2 separate regions of the Homo sapiens genome follow, and region 2 is linked to region 1. The links are contacts of gene promoters, found by promoter capture Hi-C in blood cells and fetal thymus (Javierre and others, 2016). All regions are on one chromosome and are shown on one strand. Each heading gives the region's core, a stretch centred on a gene start or on the middle of the fragment in contact. The rest is flanking DNA. Distances are from core to core; before and after follow the strand shown. Region 1 holds the start of ARMC9 (armadillo repeat containing 9). Region 2 overlaps PSMD1 (proteasome 26S subunit, non-ATPase 1).

What was found. Contacts are between HindIII fragments. The CHiCAGO score rates a contact against its expected background, and 5 or more counts as called.
Region 2: a contact is called between a fragment that was not itself captured here and the fragment with the promoter of ARMC9 in region 1, in 1 of 17 cell types (M1 macrophages). The highest score is 5.0, in M1 macrophages.

What each region holds. Positions count from the first base shown.
Region 1 is chr2:231,197,311-231,200,408 of GRCh38, forward strand. ARMC9 (armadillo repeat containing 9) reads left to right here and starts at 1,321. Exons shown (of 25, transcript NM_001352754.2): 1 at 1,321-1,388. RefSeq lists a silencer at 1,127-1,466. The HindIII fragment of the contact is 12,461 bases long and covers 1-3,098 here.
Region 2 is chr2:231,082,816-231,085,775 of GRCh38, forward strand. PSMD1 (proteasome 26S subunit, non-ATPase 1) reads left to right here. Exons shown (of 25, transcript NM_002807.4): 13 at 68-179; 14 at 752-948; 15 at 2,204-2,299. Among named protein-coding and RNA genes, the nearest start is that of PSMD1, 27 kb to the left of the region's middle. The HindIII fragment of the contact is 2,135 bases long and covers 206-2,340 here.

The DNA.
Region 1 (3,098 bases), core at 71-2,570:
AGAGACAGGTTTCACCATGTTGGCCAGGCTGGTCTGAAACTTGTGACCTTAGGTGATCCATCTGCCTTGGCCTCCCAAGTGCTGGGATTACAGGTGTGAGCCACCGTGCCGGGCCTGGTGTGAGAACTAAAGAAAACAATCTATATGATTCACTTAGCACAATGCTGGGCACACATATAGGCTGCACGTTTTGCAAACAAAAATACAGAACAATATAACATCCTACATGCACAATAAAATGAAGCAGTTTTTGGGATTTACTTACACTAAAACATTATCTAAAATTTACATTTAACTGTGTGTTCTATATTTTGTCTGGCATCTCCCGGCATACAGTTGTGTTGACGATAAATATTATGGCCATGGATTGAAGATTTATTTTCAATCCATATTACCTGGACAGAAGATAGGGCTCTCTTCTACTAAATACAGCTTTTTTTCTTTTGGAAGACAATCCACTGGCAGGGTTGGGGACTGGGGAAGTGGTGGCCACAGCCCATCTTAGGGCTTCTTCAAAGGCGAGCTGACCTACCTTCTCCGTGCCCCATTCCCTGTCTCTGGCCCTGGTAGCCTCCTCCTTCTTGGAAGCATGGAGGTGGAAACACTGAGGTGGCAACGAGAGACTCCCACGGAATCTCAACGCCTGGAGGGGAGGGATTTTCTATCCATGGCCATCTCTTCACCCTCCAGCACAAAGTTGGGTGACTAGCAAGTGCTCATTCAGTGCTGATGAACTTCAGTTCAAAAGCATCAGGTGCAAAGAGAGGGAAGACGTGTGCTCCTGATTTATTTTTAATAGCCCACATTTGACATGGAAAACAAAAAGTTTCTCTGAAATCCTTGGAAACCGCTGCAGTGGGGCGGGACCCTGGTCCCCGGAGCTTTAATGCACATCTTGGGCGTCACTTTTGGTTCTAAGGTGGCCCCAGGTCCCTCCTTTAAGATGGGAATAACCATGCCTGACTCTTTCCCCACGGACACCACACTGTCCTAGTTTGTGTTCTCTACGCGACCACGAGCTCCTTGAGACAAGGGGTTGAGCCTGCTCCGGCTCATCCCGAGAGCCGGCGCAGCGACTGGCGCAACGAAAGGGAAATGAACGAATGAATGAACGAACGAAAGTGGAGTGGTGGAGAGGACCACAGAAGACGCGGTCATCCAGCGCGTGAACCTTCACCACTGCTGGGCTGTGGACCCTCACTTCCGCCGCCAGGAAGTTTCGGGGTCGCCCACCTTCCCTCCCAGGCTGCTCCGCGTCGGCGGCGCCCCGCGCGATTGGCTGCGCCGCCCCCACGTGACGCCGGGGTGGCGGCGGCGGTTGCCCGGGTGACGGCTGCGGAGGTGGCGGCCGGGCTGGGATAGCGCGAGTGTCCGCGGCCGAGCAGCAGGTAAGCGCGTCCCCGGATGCAGCCGGGCCACCCTCCGCCCGCCGTCCTGGTGCTGGGAGGAGCAGCGGTGCGTTTGGAGGGCCGAGGCTCTGCGGACCTCTTGTTCCGAGGAAAAACCCGACGCGCCCGCTCCGCCGCCGCCGGATGCTACCACTTCTCGCCTGCGGTCCAGGGATCTTTCTTCGGCAAGGGCCGAGGCGGCCGCCTGGACATCCCAAGAAAGGACAGGCCCAGCTGCTTCCCGCAAGTAGTCCCTGATCTTTGCTGCAGTGGGCCATACTTGGAGGGGGTCCCTCAAGCCATCCAGCTGGTGGTGGCGGCGCGAGCGGGTTATCCGGGATTTAGATCCCCCTGATAATCTCCATCTGCTAGCCGCGTTCCTGAGGCACCCAGTTGAAGTCCAGACTTCACCTAATCTTAGGAAAAACAGGATGCGTGCTATGCAGATTCGGCTTCCATACAAATCCCATAATCCCACCCGTTTGTGGGCCCTAAATCTTTCTTATATAGGAATTCAAAAGCTGCCGCTGCAATCCCCAAATGTAACTGGAAAAGTTTTTCTTAGTTTCCGCATAAAGGAGAGCACTGGTTCTCAAACTTGAGAGTGTGTAAAAGTCACTCAGGGAGCTTGTTTAAAAGGCAGATTTCTGGGCATGGTGCCTGCCACGGTGTTCAGTAAGACCAGGGTGGAGGCAGGAATTTTCATTTGCACAAGCGTGCCAGCTGATTCTGATTTAGGTGGTCCAGACTTTGGGAAATACTGTGTAGTGGTTCTTTTCAGCCGCTTAGTCACTTACTGTGGCTGTTGGGAGTGTGTCAGACTTCCTGGGCCTCAAATTGCCTCATCTGGAATGGGAAAATATAAACTATATTCACCTGTCAGGTTTACTATGAAGGTTAAATGTAAAACATTTTGCACATTGCCTGGCATACCATATACCTTCAATAAATGATACCTATTATGATATAAAAGTTTAGAGAAAATTCTGTAATTTCTTTTTCTTTTCCTTTTTTTGAGACGGAGTCTTTCCCTGTCGCTCAGGCTGGAGTGGAGTGGCATGATCTCGGCTCACTGCAACCTCCACCTCCTGGGTTCAAGCGATTCTCTTGCCTCAGCCTCCCTGGTAGCTGGGATTACAGGTGCAGACGCCACCACGCCCGGCTAATTTTTGTATTTTTAGTAGAGATGGGGTTCCACCATGTTGATCAGGCTGGTCTCGAACTCCTGACCTCAGGTGATCCGCCTGCCTCAGCCTCCCAAAGTGTTGGGATTACAGGTGTGAGCCACTGTGCCTGGCCAATTCTGTAATTTCTAAGAATGTTGAGTAATAGGATACCCAGCAGCACTCACATTCAATGACAGTTGATCACAGCAGATACTATTTAAACGGCTTAGGGAGGTCTACTCTAAGGAGGTGATGTTTATTAGGCACAGTGGTTAACCAGGTGAAGAGAGGGAAGAGTGTTCTAGGCGGAGAGAGTAATATGCGCAAAGGCCTTGAGGTTGGCCTCAAGGTTTCAAATTCTCAGAAACTCACTTTTCCCGTTCCAGGGCCTTTAAAATGACATCCCCTCAGCTCCGGCTTCATTTATTCATTATATGCCTTGAGTACCTTTCTTGCTTACTAGACACTCTGTTAGGTTCTGGGGATATGAAGTTGAAATACAGCTCCCTGTCTTTGTGAACAGGGTTATAAGAAGTGCCAGGTG
Region 2 (2,960 bases), core at 23-2,522, 110 kb before region 1:
ATTAGAATAAAAACTTGTATGTTAAGTACAGTGTACCAAATCAATGGAATCTATGTTTTTTCCTTAGATCGTTAGACACGGTGGCAGTCTGGGCCTTGGTTTGGCAGCCATGGGAACTGCACGTCAAGATGTTTATGATTTGCTAAAAACAAACCTTTATCAGGATGATGCAGTAACAGGTAAGCATTTCTTTCTAAAGCTAACAAGCTTAAGTATTAATTAATGTAAATGTAATTACATTAGTTTCTACCTATATTTTGTAGCCTCTTAAAATTCCGATGGATTTCTCTAGTTGAAGAGGAAGTGAATTTTGCTCCATTTGTCAAAGTTATCTTTTAAAACAAGTTTTGTGATATATAGGCTTTCTAAAATGGTATATCCTGTGTGTCCACTTTCATAACTGACTTTTGCAAACAGGAATTTATTAGGGTGATCTGCTTACTCCATACTGCTTGGCGATAATATAGAAAAAATGTTATCTAAATGTCTCCTTTGAAATCACTGTAGGATTTGATGGTACATTCTGTCAAAGTTTAAAAGGAAAACAACCCTAAATATGAATGTGCGAACCCTAAATGTATGAATGTGCTTCCACATAAAGTATCCTTTTTACCAGGTGGTTTAAAAAAATGCTATCAGAAGCTAATGATTTTTTTGATAGTTTATGCAAAAAGAGTGCTACTTTCAGTTGGATGTTTTACTGACTTTAAAAACATAACTCTCTGTTAACATTTTACTCGTTACTTGCCAGGGGAAGCAGCTGGCCTGGCCCTAGGTTTGGTTATGTTGGGCTCTAAAAATGCTCAGGCTATTGAGGACATGGTTGGTTATGCACAAGAAACTCAACATGAGAAGATTCTGCGTGGTCTTGCAGTTGGCATAGCTTTAGTAATGTATGGGAGGATGGAAGAGGCTGATGCTCTCATTGAATCTCTCTGTCGTGACAAGGTGAGATCACATACGTCCCTCACTGTCCATTTATCTCCAGCATGTAAAAAACACTTAACTTCACTGGAAATTAACTCTGTTCCCATCAGAACATGTAGGTACACTTATTCATAAAACTTCTGGCAATGTATATGAAGCCTAATAGAATTTAAGAAATAAAAGCACTGATTAGAAAAGGTACATGGGAGTAATTTGAGGATTTTAAATTTTGCTATAGCTTCAGATCGGTGATACTCATAAGCAGATTCAGCATAGTTCTTTAGGAATTCACGAGTTGATTTCTTTTAGAAATAATAATTTTTGGGCCAGGCGTGGTGGCTCACGCCTGTAATCCTAGCATTTTGGGAGGCCGAGGCAGGTGGATCACTTGAGGTCAGGAGTTCAAAACTAGCCTGGCCAACATGGTGAAACCCTGTCTCTGCTAAACGTAGAAAAAAAATTAGCCAGGCTTGGTGGCGGACACCTGTAATCCCAGCTACTTGGGAGCCTGAGGCATGAGAATTGCTTGAGCCTGGGAGACAGAGGTTATAGTGAGCAGGGATTGAACCACTGCACTCCAGCCTGGGTGACAGAGCAAGACTCCATCTCAAAAATATATATATATATATTTTTGGAATGATTTGATAGTCATTTAATAAGATACAAAGTTTACTTCATTATTCTTTTATCAGAAAACAGTACCAATCTCTATACTTGTTTATTTGGGTGAGGTTTTTTTTCCATTGCCTTTTGTTTAGTTTTTATAATGGTGTTGTATATGGTGGGTAGTTAGTGGCAGGTAATACTGTCCTCTATAATCAATAAGAACCACTGCTATAGTTTATTGATAAAATTATTAATTAATTTGTTCAGTTACCAGGCTCCATCTTTCTTCCACTCAGCACTCAGTACCCAGGAATTTAAATAAGGTAAAAATGTAGAATTAGAAGCCAACTTCCTTGCTTGATTGTTAAAAGGAAGTGGACTGCCATAGGAGTGGCTGTTGCTGTTGACTTGACTTTATACTTCCTAAAAAGTATGAAGCAGGGCAGGCATATTGCATAGCGTATTGGGAATTAAGAGCAGCTACCTCCTTCTGTATTTATGTGTTTTATTGCCCCATTTATTTCAAAAACTACCAACCACAAAAGAGTTATTGAGCTCATCATTTCCTATCTGAGACCAGCTTACTTGGTGGATGCCACTATGCCTATTAGACTGTAGAAGTTAACTGTTTGAAATAAGTTGATGATTAATGTTAAATTATTTTTCTTAGGACCCAATTCTTCGAAGGTCTGGAATGTATACTGTAGCCATGGCTTATTGTGGCTCTGGTAACAACAAAGCAATTCGACGCCTGCTACATGTTGCTGTAAGTACTCTGACCTTTCTTGGGAATGGGGTGGACGGAAAAGCTTGCAGATGGACAATAAGTGTCTAGGTGACTCCAGCATCCACAGCGCATGACCACCACCAGTGGTCTTAGGTTGTGATTCTCATTTACTGGACCCAACAGGCCATAACCTAGCACTAGATTCACTTAGCTTTTCAGAAGGATATGGGATGGGATAACAGTCCCATATAAATGGAAGTCCTTAAAGCCATTCAGGTGCAACTTCTAAAATCCTACTGCAAGGAGCACCCTCATTTGTAAGGGATAAGACCTTGTGAGTATGTGTGGCCACCCTAGGATAGAGAAATTCAGTGAAGAACAGGAACCATTTATTTCTTTTTACAGCCGGTAGAGTTAGCTTCCACATACCCCTAATGGGTGCAGTGGCTCATGCCTGTAATCCCAGCTACTCTGGAAAGTGAAGTGGACAGTGAGCTATAATTATGCCACCGCACTCTAGCCTGTGCGACAGGGCAAGACCCTATCTCTAAAAAACAAGCAAACAATCCCCCACCCCCACACCCCGGGACCCCTAAGGAACATGATCTATTACAAGAGATGCACTGCACAGGAAAGCCAATGCACATGTTTTCCAAAAGGCTTTCCACTCATAGTTCTCCTAATCCAAATGTAGTTATCA